Linked DNA regions of Homo sapiens: region 2 is linked to region 1. The links are contacts of gene promoters, found by promoter capture Hi-C in human tissues and cell types (Jung and others, 2019). All regions are on one chromosome and are shown on one strand. Each heading gives the region's core, a stretch centred on a gene start or on the middle of the fragment in contact. The rest is flanking DNA. Distances are from core to core; before and after follow the strand shown. Region 1 holds the start of RAB10 (RAB10, member RAS oncogene family). Region 2 overlaps RAB10 (RAB10, member RAS oncogene family).

Region 1 (2,751 bases), core at 156-2,655:
AGAAAAAGGGTGGCGTAAACAGGACTGATGGGGAGAGAGAACAGAAGGTAAAGCAAATGCAAAGAAAATGCGAGGGCCCGGGCGCGGGGGCTAACGCCTGTAATCCCAGCACTTTGGGAGGCCGGGGCGGGCGGGTCACCTGTCAGGTGTTCGACACCAGCCTGACTAACAGGGTGAAACCCCGTCTCTACTAAATACAAAAAATTAGCCGGGCGTGGTAGCACATGCCTGTAATCCCAGCTACTTGGGAGGCCGAGGCAGGAGAATCACTTGAACCCAGGTGGTGGAGGTTGCAGTGAGCAGAGATTGTGCCATTGCACTCTAGCCTGGGCAACAAGAGCGAAACTCCATCTCAAAAAAAAAAAAAAAAAGAAAGAAAAGAAAAAAAGAAAAAGAAAATGCGAGGAAACGAGCGAAACTCCATCTCAAAAAAAAAAAAAAAAAAAAGAAAGAAAAGAAAAAAAGAAAAAGAAAATGCGAGGAAGCAGGCTGTGTCGGACTGGGAGTAGGCTTGACCACCTTTCAATTTTCAACCCAGTGGTACGACGCTGGCGGCAGGCAGAGGCCCCACCTCCTCTGCAGAGCGCTCTCGGGTTCTCCCGGATTCCTGAAGGACGGCAAAGGCCTGAAGCAGGTTCTCTGAGCACCGCACAGAACCCTCCACTTCGCAGGGAGGTTCTTCCTGCGCCCAGGTGTTCCTCAACCTTCCTCTCCTCGCCCAGGAAGAGGTTGTGAGGATTACCTCATCCCAACCCGAGCGGCGTGGCCAGCTTTTCCATCTCAAACTCTTGCTCTTGAAGTCAATCCGGATGGAGCGCTCATGTTTCCCCGTCAGGGCTGGCCCTGGAGAGGGGGCACGCCGGGAGGCGTCTCGTTCTAGCAAAGAGGCTATTAAATGACCCAGGGCGCGGCTTTTTCTCGCGTTTACGAGCTCCACCTACACGGGAACACATGGCCACCCAAGCCCGTCGCTGCGCCAAGACCTCCAGCTCAACACACCCGACAAGCGCTGTGCAGAGAAACCGCAGCGCAGTCCAGCGGGAGACCCCGGGAGGGGAAGGAGGTGCTGGGCTCTGTAAGGGTGTCCCGGGGAGCGGGGAGCGGGAGGCGGGAGGCGGGGGTCGGAGGGGGGGCGCTGCGCCTGCGCAGTCGCTAGGTAGCGTCTCCCCCGGGGCGTGCTCGTAACGCCGCGCACCCTATCAGGCGGCCACAGGGAGCGCGCCCGCGGCCTCGCCCTTTCTCGCCCCTCCCTTCTCCCCTCTGGGTCCAGCCTCAGACTGAGGCTTGGAGACAGGAGCATTCCACTCGCCACTTCGGCGCGCCCCCATGCCCTCTTGTGCGCGTGCGCAGAGGCGGACCGCAAGGCTAGGGCGTGAGGGAAGGGCGGGCGTACGCCCTTGCGTGCGTCTCAGGCAGCGCGCACGCCGGCGTGAGAGGGCACGGGGAAAAGGTGGCTCTGGCCGGGGTGGCTCGGTTTCCTGGGGCTATGTAACTGAGCTCGTCGACTTAGGGGTCCTTCTTCGCTGCCCTCGCCGCGTGCTAGCAGGGAGTTTCCGCTCGGGAGAGAGACTGTCCTCACGCCCGCTGCGCCTCCTCGACGGCAGAGCAGGCTTGCTCGCCCGTGGGAGCGTCCCGGCCGAGAAGCCCTGAGGGGGGAGGGGAGGCCATTTTGTCCCGACCGACTCCCCGGAACCGGGCGGACGGGCTGGGAGAGGCTGCGGAGCCGCGGTCGCCGCCCTCGGAGGCACTGGACGCCGCCACTGTCGGGGCTTCCTCAAAGCTGTTCGTAGGTCGCCCGCGCCGTCTCGAGCCTTTTTCCCACGCTTCCCCGGTCCTCCGGCCTGAGAACGCCCGAGTGAGGAGTTGGCCGTAGTGAGAGGGACCGATCCCTTGGGGCCGCCGGCGGCGAGAGCCCGAGCCGCTCCTCCCAATGGCGAAGAAGACGTACGACCTGCTTTTCAAGCTGCTCCTGATCGGGGATTCCGGAGTGGGGAAGACCTGCGTCCTTTTTCGTTTTTCGGATGATGCCTTCAATACTACCTTTATTTCCACCATAGGTAAGACCTGTGGGAGGACGGTGTACGGTCTCGGTAGCTGCATACCGTTTATTTTACTCCAGACATCTTGCTTCCCGTAATATACGCCTTTGTTTCAGTGATTCCGATTCCAAACGACACATCCAAGTTACTGTTTGAATCGGCATCGAGCTTACTGGGGCGGGGTCTTCCCATGATTTCCATCCGGTCTTTTGCTTTCGAGTCTCCCACTATGCTCAGTGCCTTCTGTTACAAAATATGCATCATTTAACCATGTTCCAGAACCTTATTTCTTCAGGCGACTGGACTGGCTTTTTCCACATTTGCGTGGAATTAGTAGATGTGTGATATTTTTAAGGTATTTATTTCAGTGGTTGCGATTGAAGCAGTACTAGCTATTTGGGAAAGGCCTGAATTTATACTTTGGGGCAAAGAAAAGATTCCATATGGTGATAACTTAGAGTAAACTTGAGGGTTTCTGAGAAGAATAATTAAGGTAAATTAGAAGGGAAGAGTGAGTTGCCCTCATTCACTAATCCATTGATGTGTCAAACAATCGGAGGCTCTTCGCGCTTGGGGTGGGACTCTGGCATATTTGCCTCAGTGCTTTTCGAGACATCAACAGAAGCAGTAATCTGAGGGAGATGATCAGTTTCTGTCCTCAAACCCAACGGAGTGAAGTCAAGCTCTCTCTTCTATTTTATTTGACTCTAGT
Region 2 (2,751 bases), core at 168-2,667, 49 kb after region 1:
ACAATGGAGTAATATTTAAGTTCAGAAAGGAAAAGCTATCAATTTAGAATTCATTCCTGACAAAAATATCATTAATAAAGGCAAAATACATTTTTCAGACAGACAAAAGCTGAGAGAATTTTTTACCTGTGCTTTTAAGGAATGTTAAAGGAAGTGTTTTAGCCTGAAAAAAATTATTCCGGATGGAAATCGAAACTTACACAAAAGGAATGAAGATGACAGGAAATGGTAAAAATGTGTGGAAATAGAAAATATTTCTTCTCAATTTTTAATTTATTTAAAAGATAATTGTTTACAGTAAAATATTTTAATGTTTTATAGGATTTATAGCACTTAGCAGTAAAATGTAGAAGTGTAACAAAGAAATTTTAAAAAACAATAATAGCCCAATGATGGGAAGGGGAAAAAATGGAAGTATAATTCTGTAAGGTTCTTATATTATGTTAAAAGTGGTATAATACCATTTGGAGGTAGATGGTTCTAGTTACGATGTTTATTATGAGCCTTAGAGAAACTACTAAAAAATATACTGGGCACATCTAATCAGCGACCAAATCTTAAAGTTGGAGTGCTATATTAATATTAGACAAGGTAGATTTTAGAGCAAGGAGTATATTTCTAGAAATAAAGAGGATCTTTTTATAATGATAAAGGGGTCAGTTTGTCATATATACCTAATAACAGAATATCAAAATACTTGAGGCAAAAACTGACAGAATTGGAAGGAGAAATAATCTATAATTGTATAGTTGGATATTTTAACAGTCCTCTCTTAGTAATTGATAGAATAAGTAGACATATATTTAAGAAATGAGATCTTAATTTAAAACCTTTCTGAAAGAAACCTCAGGCCCAAATGGCTTCACTGGTGATTTATATCAAATGTTTAAAGAAGAAACAATATGAATCTTAAACTCTTCCAATAAATGCAAGAGGGTATGCTTTCCAAGTTGTTTTATGGGATCAGCCTTGTCTTGGATACTAAAACTAAAGATATGACCTATCCCTAATGAACATAGAGATTTTTTTCAAGAACATAATAATTATTAACTAAATAATTGCAAACCAAATCCAGGAATTTATGAAAAGAATAATACATCATGACTCAAATGGACTTTATTCCAGGAATGCAAGGTTGGTTTCACATTTAAAATCAAAGTAATTAGCTGCCTTAATGGAGTAAAGAAGAAAAATCATACCATCATAGTAGGCATAGACAAAGCATTTGATGAAATACACCTCATGATAACTCAGGAATCTAGGAACAGGAACATTTGTTTAATGTGCTAAATTTTGTACAGTTAACACACTTTAATGGCAGAGCATTTAGTCTAGAGCTTCCTAAGGTCAAATAAAGAACAACAGTATATTAGAGGTTGTAGATAATAAAATAAAGCAAGAGAAATAAGTCAGAAGATGTAAACGTGCCTTTATTTAGACTGTGTTGTTATATACATAGAAAATCCTAAATAACCTACCTTCTCCACAAAAAAAGAGCAACTAGAATTAATAAGTGAATGTAACAGGTTGCAGGATACAAGGTCAGTGTACCAAAACCAATTGTATTATTTTTCTTTTTTCTCTTTTCTCTCTTCTCTCCCCTCCCCTCCCTTCCCCCTCAGCTTTCCCCTCTTCCCTCCCCTCCCCCAAAACCTTCCCCTCCTTTCTCCTTTCCTTCCCTGTACTTTCCTTTTGTCTCACTCTGTCACCCAGGCTGGAGTGCAGTGGCACCATATCAGCTCACTGCAACCTCCGCCTCCCAGGTTCTAGCAATTCTTATGCCACAGCCTCTGCAGTAGCCGGGATTACAAGTGTGTGCCACCACACCCGGTTAATTTTTTGTATGCTAGTAGCTGGGATTACAGGTGTGTGCCACCACACTGGGCTAATTTTTTGTATCTTTAGTAGAGACTGGGTTTTGCTGTGTTGGCCAGGCTGGTCTCGAACTCCTGGCCTCAAGTGATCTGCCCACGCCGGCCCCACAAAGTGCTGGGATTACAGGCGTGAGCAGCTGCACCTGCTTAATCAATTGGAGTTCTGTGTTTAGCAGCAAACAATGAGAAAATGAAATGTAAAAATATATTATTTACAATAGCATCCAACAAATGAAAATGAAATGGGGATAAATTTTAAAAATATATGCAAGGCTTAGACATGGAAAACTACAAAATATCGCTGAGAGAACTAAAGACAGCCCAAATAAAGAGAGCTATACCGTATTCATGGATTAGAAGGCTCACATCACTCTGCTCAAAATGCTCCCTGTGTTTCTTGAACATGCCAAACATATTTGCATGTCAAATCCATTGTACTTGTTATTTTCTCTGCCTGGAACACTCTCCCCAAATAGTCACATGGCCTGTTCCCTTACCTTAAGGTCTTTGCTCAAATATCTCTCAGTGCGTCATTCCTTGACCACCTCATATAAGATAGCTCTTCCTCCTGTTCTTGTTCATAGGATTTATTATTACTAACATCAGAGATTTGAAATTGGGGGGAATGGGTAATACCCTTTCATAAGTTCCCCCAACAGAAGGACTTTGCCTTATTCATTGCCAAGTGTGTAGTAAGTGTGGTTTACCCTACTGAAACTCATGTTACTATAATGTGAATTAGCTTATAGCCAATTGTTAAAAAGTGAATGATATCGCAATAATGAGGAAATCATGTTGGGTCATATGTGCTTTTCCCTAGTGTATTATGTTTTGGTACATGGTACACCATGTTTTGGTACATGGTACGTGTTTTTGG

The links. The method cuts DNA at HindIII sites, captures the fragments that hold promoters and counts their contacts. A contact is called where the count stands out against the background at its distance.
Region 2: a contact is called between a fragment that was not itself captured here and the fragment with the promoter of RAB10 in region 1, in 3 of the 25 tissues and cell types used here (H1 embryonic stem cells, liver and pancreas).

What each region holds. Positions count from the first base shown.
Region 1 is chr2:26,032,679-26,035,429 of GRCh38, forward strand. It overlaps RAB10 (RAB10, member RAS oncogene family), which reads left to right and starts at 1,406. Exons shown (of 6, transcript NM_016131.5): 1 at 1,406-2,057. The coding sequence starts at 1,931. It overlaps LOC124907743 (a long non-coding RNA gene), which reads right to left and starts at 1,071. Exons shown (of 2, transcript XR_007086249.1): 1 at 1,000-1,071. RefSeq lists a silencer at 1,072-1,301 and an enhancer at 1,612-1,661. The HindIII fragment of the contact is 17,562 bases long and covers 1-2,751 here.
Region 2 is chr2:26,081,796-26,084,546 of GRCh38, forward strand. All of the region lies in intron 1 of RAB10 (RAB10, member RAS oncogene family), which reads left to right. The region is part of intron 1 of LOC105374333 (a long non-coding RNA gene); the gene reads left to right. Among named protein-coding and RNA genes, the nearest start is that of RAB10, 49 kb to the left of the region's middle. The HindIII fragment of the contact is 7,743 bases long and covers 1-2,751 here.